Regions from separate parts of the Homo sapiens genome. Here all the other regions are linked to region 2. The links are contacts of gene promoters, found by promoter capture Hi-C in blood cells and fetal thymus (Javierre and others, 2016). All regions are on one chromosome and are shown on one strand. Each heading gives the region's core, a stretch centred on a gene start or on the middle of the fragment in contact. The rest is flanking DNA. Distances are from core to core; before and after follow the strand shown. Region 1 holds the start of ATP23 (ATP23 metallopeptidase and ATP synthase assembly factor homolog). Region 2 holds the start of C12orf56 (chromosome 12 open reading frame 56). Region 3 overlaps RAB3IP (RAB3A interacting protein).

Region 1 (3,412 bases), core at 5-2,504, 6.4 Mb before region 2:
ATAATGTATCCAAGGTGAATTTAATTAAAAAGTAGTTACTTTTTTTTTGACTTCTGGCTTTAATAGTCTATGTACATAGGAGTTGTTTGTATTTTTATAATATTCCAGATGAATGACTATCCTAGCATCCCACTCAATTTAGATATTGAGCATCTATGACACATAAAGCACTGTTCATAACCCTAAAGGCCTGCTGAGCCTATATTTTTCAGATATGTTTCTTACATAAACCACATGCTGCTCTTCATCTTTAGCAATTTTCTTAGTCATGTGTTTCCTCAGTCTCTTACACCTTGCCTGGCCCATCATAGTAGGTGCTGAATAAATGTGTGAGCTGAGTGGAATAATTTAGTAGGAAAAGAGAAACACACAAATTGGATAAAACCTGGCAGGCTACGATGAAAATGATTAACAGGTACAAAGTGCTTTGTACATTGGGAGATCAGGAGACATTAATTTTGATTAAGGTATCTGGGAATGCCCTGTGGAGTAGGCAGATTTGACCTGGGCCCCAATCATAGGGGCTGAGGCAAGGAGCTTAAAGATGGAAATGACAGTATGAGTTAAGGCTGAGAGGTAGAAGTAAACAGGGTGCGCTTTGTTATCAGGGAGTTATTGGTGGGGGGTGGGGCAGAAGAGTAGGGTAAACGAATGGGTACAGGTGGGAAGAAAAAATGTAGTTGGTTCCTACATTTTGAGGATTTTGATGTGACTAGTCATTCTTTATAGTTTTAAAACGTTTCTGAAAAACACTGCTTTCAATATGGCCAGAGGCATCTTTGGGCAGAGTGGATCTGAGGGATGGCAGGGGTCGGGAAAGTGGCGGGCCAGAAATGACAACTGGCTTGCCCCGGAAGAAGGCAGGGAGTGGGAGGATGGCCGAGACCTTCGGCGGCACAAGAGCAGTTAGTGGCCAATATTCGCCCCGAGGTGAGGAAGGAGTGTCTGCGAGGAGGCGGGACACCCTTAGAGCTCAGCAGGCAGCAGGAAGCTGCAGAACAACGCTTATAAAGACATGTCACCCACACTGGGAGGGCAGCAGCGAAATCCGCGGCAGCCGGGTTGTTACAGCCTTTGAGGGAAGTCGCAAGACCCAGCTCCGCCCAACAGCATCGGGCCCCGCGCCCCGCCCCATGCCCTCGCCCCGCCCCTCATCCCTCGCCCCGCCCCTCGCCTCTCGCCCCGCCCCTCGCCTCTCGCCCCGCCTCCCGCGCTCCCCGTCAGGTTCAAAGCCCCCTCCCGCCTAACGTCTTCAGCCCAGCCAGGCTGCCCTTCTTCCCTGCGGAGGGAGGGCCTGGGCGGTCGCGTTGGCGGGAGGGAGGTTACCTTTCCCAGTCTCGCTCTGGCCGCCTGAGCCAGGAGGAAGCAGCGGCGAGGTCTGCGGGAGGCATGGCGGGAGCTCCGGACGAGCGCCGGCGGGGCCCCGCGGCAGGGGAGCAGCTGCAGCAGCAACACGTCTCTTGCCAGGTCTTCCCCGAGCGTCTGGCCCAGGGGAATCCCCAGCAAGGGTTCTTCTCCAGCTTCTTCACCAGCAACCAGAAGTGCCAGCTTAGGCTCCTGAAGACGCTGGAGACAAGTAGGAGCCATGACCTGGAGGCTGTGGTTCCACAGAATGGGTCTGAGACCGGGTGGGCGAGGAAGGGCCTGGGCAACACCTGGCCAGGGGCTTCAGGTTCAGCACAGAGTCTAGACAGACTGGGCATCATGGGGGCTGGGTTGGGAGCCTGAGGCTCAGTTTCCCCACTAGAGGTGGCGCTGAGACCCTTTTCGTCGCTGTTTTTGGCTTGTGGAATGAATTTGTCTGCCCTTTTTTGTCACTCACTGTTGTGACAGATCCTCCGATTTCTTACATAAGTTATGCAGCCACACTGTGACTTCAGGGTAAGGGTGAGGCCAAGTTTTAAAGTGCCAGCCAGGTTAATTAAGGCACACAAAGGCTGTAAAAATGTAAAAATGTAATTAAGGCATACCAAGGCTGTAAAAATATAAAAGCAGTTTTGCAAACCTACCGTTCCTTGGAAGTGGTTCATGCATGAATGGGCTTCAGAGCGTAGAAATCCCTGAAATGGTCTGTGAAATCGTGTGTATGTGTGTGTGTGTGCCCCTAAGTGCATTTTTTTTTTTTTTTTGAGACGGAGTCTCGCTCTGTCGCCCAGGCTGGGGTGCAGTGGCGCGATCTTTGCTCACTGCAAGCTCCGCCTACTGGGTTCACGCCGTTCTCCTGCCTCAGCCTCCCGAGTAGCTGGGACTACAGGCGCTCGCCACCACACCCTGCTAATTTTTTGTATTTTTAGTAGAGACGGGTTTTCACCGTGTTAGCCAGGATGGTCTTGATCTCCTGACCTCGTGATCTGCCTGCCTCGGCCTCCCAAAGTGCTGGGATTACAGGCGTGAGTCACTGCGCCCGGCCCAAAGTGTATTTTTTTTTGGTCGGGGGAGAGAGTTAATAGCTTCATCATATTCTCAAAGAGGCCAACGACCCCACAAAGGTTAAGAACTGCTGTGGGTTAAACAGGGACACAACTGCCCATTGACAAATTTCTCTCCCGTCCCAGAGACATTGCACTAGAGAAGATTTCTTAATTCCTTTACATTGACATAGACTTCTTAAGTTTACTTTCAGATACATTCAGAAAATTAGTCTTAAACATACTTGTCCCAAAGCAAGGTTACTATTTCATAGCTAGTCAGTCACAGTTCAAAAGTCAACCACCGAAAGATTTTCCAACCTTCTTGGGATTACCTGCTTGTAGAGACTCAGGGAGGTAGGAGGAGGAAGGGGAGTTGAGGGTAAAAGGGGAGAGAATGATGATATTGTATTTACTGTACAAATATGTATTGAGTGCCTCCCAGGTTCTGGTGGGGGAAGTAGAAAGATGAGTTAGCACCCTGCCTTGAAGGTGCTTCAAAGTGGAATAGAGTGGAAAGAGTATGGGTTGCAGAGTTAGATGTGGGTTCAAATGCGGATCCCTTTCCTCAGGTGTGGAAGGTGACTTAACTTCTCTGATCCTCACTATCCTTATTGTAAAAAAAGAGAAGGGGAAAATACCTTTTTTAGGGTTGTTGTGAAGAATAGATTTTATGGGGCTGGGTACGGTGGCTCATGCCTGTAATCTCAGCACTTTGGGGAGCCAAGGCAGGGGGATTGCTTGAGCTCAGATGTTTAAGACCAGCCTGGGTAATATAGGGAGACCCTGTCTCTACAAAAAATAAAAAAAATTAGCTGGATGTGGTGGCTCATGCCTGCAGTCCCAACTATTTAGGAGGCTGAGGCAGGAGATTTGCTTGAACCCAGGAGGCTGAGGCTGCAGTGAGCTGTTATTGCATCACTGCACTCCAGCCTGGGCAACAGAGCGAGACCCTGTCTAAAAAAAAAAAAAGTACTGATTTTATGAATGTAAAGTACCAGCAT
Region 2 (3,265 bases), core at 42-2,541:
GCTTATTCATGCATTTATTCTTTTGCTGGGGAGGGGGTGGAGGGGAACGGTGTCTCACTCATTCTGTAGCTCAGGCTGGAGTGCAGGTGGGGCGATCTCGGCTCACGGCAACCTCCGCCTCCCAGGTTCAAGCGATTCTTGTGCCTCAGCCTCCCAAGTAGTTGGGATTACAGGTGCACACGACCACGCCTGGGTAATTTTTGTACTTTTGGTGGAGACGGCGTTTCACCATGTTGGCCAGCCTGGTCTCGAACCCCTGACCCCCGGTGATCTATCCACCTTGGCCTCCCAAAGTGTAAGGATTATAGGCGTGATCCACGGCACCCGGCCTTATGCATTTATTCTTATTGAGCATCTAACATGCTCTAAGCATCGGGGGCAAAAAAGTAAATGAGATATAACAGCACTTAACACACAGCATTTATTTGCACGGGTGTTGGCTTTCTAGCCCTCCAGCGACTGCTTCTAGGTAGGGGCCCTCTTTCGTTTTTGCATCCTCCGAGTCTAGCACAGTGCCTGGCACTGACTAGGTGCTTTGTTAACAAAGGAATGACTTTAAAAGGTATTTTTGATAGGGAGCTCGGTTCTCAAACCTGTAGCCCTACGTGGGGTAGGGGAGGCGGGAGAATGGGTGAACAGGCAGACACGAGGAGAATGGGAGACGTGTTTGTATTAGGAGTGCTCACAGCAATCCACAGCTTCCCTGTGTTCCTCGTTCTCAAATAAGAGGAGGGGAGTCGAGGGCAGGATGGGGCAGCCCTCCCCGCGCAGGAGGGCTGGGTTTGGGGGCCCCAGCCGGGAGTTCTCACTGCGCTCCCGAGCCCGCCTGCCCACCCGCGCCGCTCACCAGGTCAATGGCCACGACGTCCCGCAGAGCCACTACCCGCCGGATGGACTTGGGCGGGTTCTCGGTTAGGTAGACGAGCCGGTCGCTTAGCACCACATACTTGAGGATGTGGTTCTCAGAGTTGGACACCACGATGCATGGCTCGTAGGCGCGGACCGCGTCGTAGACCTCGGGCGGCAGATGCCGCCGCAGGAACACATCCAGGCGGCTGTTCCTGCGCGCGGGGAAGCCGGACGGCAAGGGGCTGGCCATGCCCGGCGCCCGCAGCGTGGCGGAGTGCTGGGACTCGAGGCCCTCAGCTCGCCCTCTCCCCGCCCCCGCGCTGGAACCCGCGCGCCACAAAGCCGCCGGCCACGCGTCGCCTCCTCTCCAGGCGCGGGGACCCGGGCCGCAACTGCAGGAATCGACGCTAGGTCGGCTTCCCTGGAGCGCCCTCCCCAGCCCTGTCCAGCCTCTCGATCTTTGTCCTAACCTCAGACGGCGATGGGCGGGGCAAGACGCTGGTCCTTCAGGCCCGAGTTGATGGGCACCTCGGGCTCATCACCGTGAAGTCCCCTGCGGCCGAAGGGCGGTGGATTTTTAGGGTCTCTCCCGCCCACCCCTAATGCCAGTCCCCACCACTGCGTACTCTGTTGCGGATCACACCATCCAATACAAACTTTATTGGTAATGGAAGCCAGCTTCAATCTGGTTTCCTGTTAGAAACTTGAAAGAGTTTAATTTACCGATTTATTTTTAACAACCCTAGAAACCTATTAAACCCAATCACACAGATTTAGCTTTTGGTTATAACATGGCCTGGCACAGCTTTCTGATATTGTCGGAGTGTAAACATAGGTCTTCTTTCTCCAACCAGTGAGAAAGGGATTTTTTTTTTCTTTTCTCTTTTTTTTTTTGAGACGCAGCTTTGCTCTTGTTGCCCAGGCTGGAGTGCAATGGCGCCATCTCGGCTCACCGCAACCTCCCCCTCCCGGGTTCAAGCGATTCTCCTACCTCAGCCTCCTGAGTAGCTGGAATTACAGGCATGCGCCACCACGCCCAGCTAATTTTGTATATTTTAGTAAAAACGGGGTTTCTCCATGTTGGTCAAGCTGATCTCCAACTCCCGACCTCAGGTAATCCGCCCGCCTCGGCCTCCCAAAGTGCTGGGATTACAGGCGTTAAGTCACCTCGCCCAGCCTTTGAGAAAGGGATTCTTCACATGAATTGATGTGAGCACACCCAAACCAACCTAAGGCATATGGTTTTGTTTCCAATGCCCAGGACAATCTATGCAGGAAGAATGAATGGGTGATGCTGGCATCTTGAAAAGTTGAAGCTGATAGACTGAAGAATGCGGATTACATACCCTGAGGCTGCAGAGGAGTAAGTATTCCTTAGTTTTTACAGGCCAAGAATAACTTACTAATTAGGTTAGAGAAATGAGAAGGGCACAACAGAAATGCTCTAAGTCAGAAGTTCCATTTTTTATTTCGAATCCTAGAAAAGTTATTCTCTTCCCCTCCCCATTGACCCAAAAACCTGATAATGAAACCATATCGTTCATTGCTGTGGCTGCCAGCAACCCTGAATCAAATTTGATATATTCTTTATATTCTCCCTTTCTACATATTTTATTATTGTATACTGTATGTTATAAGCAACTTCAAATCCCTTGTGGAAAGAAGGTATAAATATATTACAATCCATAAACAGATATTGTAGACTACACTAGTACAAAGGGAAAGAGAAATGTTTTGGTCTGGCTAAACTTTTTTTTTTTTTTTTTTTTTGAGACAGAGTCTCCCTCTGTCACCCAGGCTGGAGTGCAGTGGCATGATATCGGCTCACTGCAGCCTCTGCCTCCTGGGTTCAAGCCATTCTCCTGCCACAGCCTCCCAAGTAGCTTGGACTACAGGTGTACACCACCATGCCTGGCTAATTTTTTTTCTGTGTGTATTTTTAGTAGAGACAGGATTTCACCATCTTGGCCATGGCTTGTCTCCTGACTTCAACTGATCTGCCTGCCTTGACCTCCCAAAGTGCTGGGAATACAGGCATGAACCACCGCCATGTAAGGGTCTGGCTAGACTTAAGTCTAAGATCATGTTAAGGAACTCAAGTGAGTAAAGAGAAGTGCCACCTGCTGGCAAAATCTTAAATGACCTAGTAGTTAAAGTTTTCTTAGGATCTCATCACACATCTGAGCCTTCCTAACTTCATAAATGGATGAAAAATGAATGAACTACACCATCCGTAGCAACCTTTATTGATAAAAGATGCCGCATGGCTATTTCCTCCAAAATAAAGACTACTCATTATCTAAACCACTCTAAATAGAGTTTGTTGCTTCAAACTAACAGAAAGGCAAAGGCGCTTCACCTCTGCTGAATAGCCACACCTCACAAAAGCAGTTGAAAGATGAATGACTACAATATC
Region 3 (3,330 bases), core at 488-2,987, 5.4 Mb after region 2:
TAGTTGAGAAAATTGAGACCCTGAGACCTTATGTAGTTTGCTCAACGTCACATAGTTAATTAAGTGACAGGTCTAGATTAGATGTCAGACAGTTTGTCTTCCATGTCTGTGCTCTTAACCACTACACTCTGTCATTTCTTCATGTATAAGTGGTAATGCTAAAGAATTGTTTGCTCATAATCACTACATTATCACTTCTTTATGTGTAGCTTATAATGCTGAAGAACTTTGTAATTTAGCTTTTATGAGATACGTAATGTTAATGTAATATGTAATTCTCATTGTGTCACCAGAGATTTTTTTAAATCAAATACTCATTGAGCATCTACTCTGCAAGTCACAGTAGGGGTTAAAGGAAACTGTTCTTAAGGAATATGGAAGGTAGGGCCTTATAATCATTCCCATATCTTTTATAAGTTCTTCAAAATGTAGAACGCACTTTACATATTTTAATGAATGTCAACTAAGACAAAGTGCTAGGATAGTTGAGTAGTGGAGAGGAAGGACAGATGGATAGTGGGTAGAGATATTTGTGCATTGAGGTAATGAGGGAAAGCTTTGAAGATATTCCAAGGGAGTACGCTTTTTCACACTAAACTTTTTTCCGATATAATTCTGATTAAGATGCAGTTCATCAAAGGATAGTAAATTGGTTACTACGCATTTGATATCCTAAAAACAAAATATCTGAGCTTTTGTAAACTGCTTTCTAGCTTGTTTCTCCTTTTTTATGCTACTATCCTTAGTTGTACCAGATGGTACTCTTTTTAAAAATTTTATGCTTTTATAATACTGAGTACCTCTTTTTTGGTATTTATGAACTTTGATATTTGTGTTGTATTTGTAATTGTTTCTAGGGCCCTAGAAACATGTTTATTGGCAAGGTGGTCTCTTCCTCTAGTCTACAAGTGCTTCGAGAGTAGGGCTTACCTCATTTTATAGCTTTAACATCGGGCCAGGTAAGTACTGTGCTGTGTTTGGTGATGGATGATCAGTTGAAGAATGTTAGGATGTTTTGAAGCTGCTCTAGCAGTAGAAATTGAAATGAACATTGAGAAATGAAGGGACAAAGGAAGGAAGAGGAAGATATTTATACAACTGGGAGCATTAACTTGCTATCTCTATTTTCCCTTCTGCTTTCCTTTTCAACTTACCACTAAATGAGGTAGTTTTATAAGCTTACATCGTACATAGTCATGGTTAGAGAAAAGTGGAAAAAGTAATCTGATTTATCTTAGAATATAGGGCAACACGAAATTAGATAACTATAGCCGTAAACTGATATTACTTAGAGGAAAAAGAATGAAAATTATTCAAATAGTTCAAGTTCATGAAAGATTTGATGCTTGTCGTTAACAGTAGGATTGTAAATATAATCATAATGGCAGTTGATGAAATTCCTCTGAGGGGTATGGATACATACACAAATAAGTATATGAATTGACAGCTTAGTATGAAGAAACTATTCAAGAATGTGAGAATGCCCTATGAGCATAAAGGAGCATATAGATGATAGCTTAGAACCACTTAAATAAGTGAATTGTAATTTGATATGCCCAGATAAAAGTAATAGTATTGAATATTTGTTTGGGAGCATCTGGTTGTCAGATAAGGATAAAGTATAAAAGAAAAACCAAAATAAGTTTGAAAAAACAATAAGCAAATTTGTATCAATTCCCTGTGGGGAAAAGAATCATATTTGAACTACATGCCTCATAAAGACTAGTTTTCCCTTTCTTTCCTTTTACCTAAGATAAATAAAGATACCTTCTGATTTGTAAGACAAACCCCTCAGTATGCTTTTGCTATTTCCCCCATTACATTTTTTTCTTTCTTAGATCTTTATAAAATCATACATTTATGTTGTGCTTTACAATGTATACATTTTTACATTGATATGCCATTTGATTTTCTCAAATGTAGGCAGGGGAGATAATATCACTACCATTATAGATGTCAAAACTGAACCTTAGAGAGATTAAATGACTTGCGTCAGTTCACACAGCTTGTCAGTGACAGAATCTGAACTAGAAGGAAGGTTTTCTGAAGTTAGTCTGTTAAAATGCTCAGGTTTTCTCAAACTTCAATTTCTCCAGTTTTGATACTCTCGCAAAGTATTTACTGTTTCATTTCTATCTTTTTCAGCAAAAATGTAGCCTGAATAACTGTCTCCACTCTTTACCGCTTTGCTATTCATTCCTTCTCTAAAGACTCTTGTTTATTTATTTAGTCAGTGCGTATTTCAGCACCTGTTGAATGTTTAGTTGGCATATATTCTTAAGAGAATATGTAAAATGAAGCTTCCATTATTGAGAAAAAGAAATTTGGAAAATGATTTTTTTAAAAAATTATACTTTTAAGTTCTGGGATACATGTGCAGAATGTGCAGGTTTGTTACATAGGTATACACGTGCCATGGTGGTTTGCTGCACCGGTCAACCCATCATCTACCTTAGGTATTTCTCCTAATGCTATCCCTCCCCTAGCCCGCCACTCCCCCACAGGCCCTGGTGTGTGATATTCCCCTCCCTGTGTCCGTGTGTTCTCATTGTTCATCTCCCACTTATGAGTGAGAACATGCGGTGTTCTGTTAATTTAAATAAATATTTAATTACAAATAAATATTTGTAATTAAATATTAGCTCATTGTATTATTACAAATAATTATTTGTAATTAAATATAATATTAGCTCATAAGTTCAGAACATTTTCTGAAAACTGTCAACATAACACACTGCAATAACTAACATCTCTACACATGTCAGGTTGTACATTGAAGTGTTGTGGAATTAGGCCGGGCATGGTGGCTCACACCTGTAGTCCCAGCACTTGGGAGGTTGAGGCAGACAGTTACTTGAGGTCAGGAGTTCGAGACAAGCCTGGTCAACATGGCAAAACCCCATCTCTACTAAAAATACAAAAAATTAGCTGGGTGTGGTGGCAGGCGCCTGTAATCCCAGCTATTCAGGAGACAGATGTTGCAGTGAGCCGAGATTGTGCCACTGCACTCCAGCCTGGGCGACAGAGCGAGACTGCATCTCAAAAAAAAAAAAAAAAAAGTATTGTGGAATTAGTGGGAATTCATTTGTGATCTATTATAATAAAAATGGGAAAATTGTGTAGCCTGATTGACCATTTGAGTAATTTTGCCCTTGGGCTATTAATTACATTTGCATTTATAAACATAGAATGCTTCTTAAAAGATAAATGTGATTTTTTTTGTCATAACTAAAATGCTAGTTTGGGAAGCCAACTTTAAAATTATTATGAAAGCTAATGAAAAAATGATTTTATATATATACTTGTTTTGTTTTTTCCTCCTTTATTATA

The links. Contacts are between HindIII fragments. The CHiCAGO score rates a contact against its expected background, and 5 or more counts as called.
Region 1: a contact is called between the fragment with the promoter of ATP23 here and the fragment with the promoter of C12orf56 in region 2, in 1 of 17 cell types (naive CD8 T cells). The highest score is 5.2, in naive CD8 T cells.
Region 3: a contact is called between a fragment that was not itself captured here and the fragment with the promoter of C12orf56 in region 2, in 1 of 17 cell types (naive CD8 T cells). The highest score is 5.8, in naive CD8 T cells.

What each region holds. Positions count from the first base shown.
Region 1 is chr12:57,940,313-57,943,724 of GRCh38, forward strand. It overlaps ATP23 (ATP23 metallopeptidase and ATP synthase assembly factor homolog), which reads left to right and starts at 1,255. Exons shown (of 6, transcript NM_033276.4): 1 at 1,255-1,576. The coding sequence starts at 1,390. RefSeq lists enhancers at 1,124-1,933, 2,390-2,559. The HindIII fragment of the contact is 6,393 bases long and covers 1-3,412 here.
Region 2 is chr12:64,389,467-64,392,731 of GRCh38, forward strand. It overlaps C12orf56 (chromosome 12 open reading frame 56), which reads right to left and starts at 1,292. Exons shown (of 13, transcript NM_001170633.2): 1 at 848-1,292. The coding sequence starts at 1,099. The HindIII fragment of the contact is 6,871 bases long and covers 1-3,265 here.
Region 3 is chr12:69,741,651-69,744,980 of GRCh38, forward strand. The region is part of intron 1 of RAB3IP (RAB3A interacting protein); the gene reads left to right. Among named protein-coding and RNA genes, the nearest start is that of RAB3IP, 4.5 kb to the left of the region's middle. The HindIII fragment of the contact is 1,122 bases long and covers 1,177-2,298 here.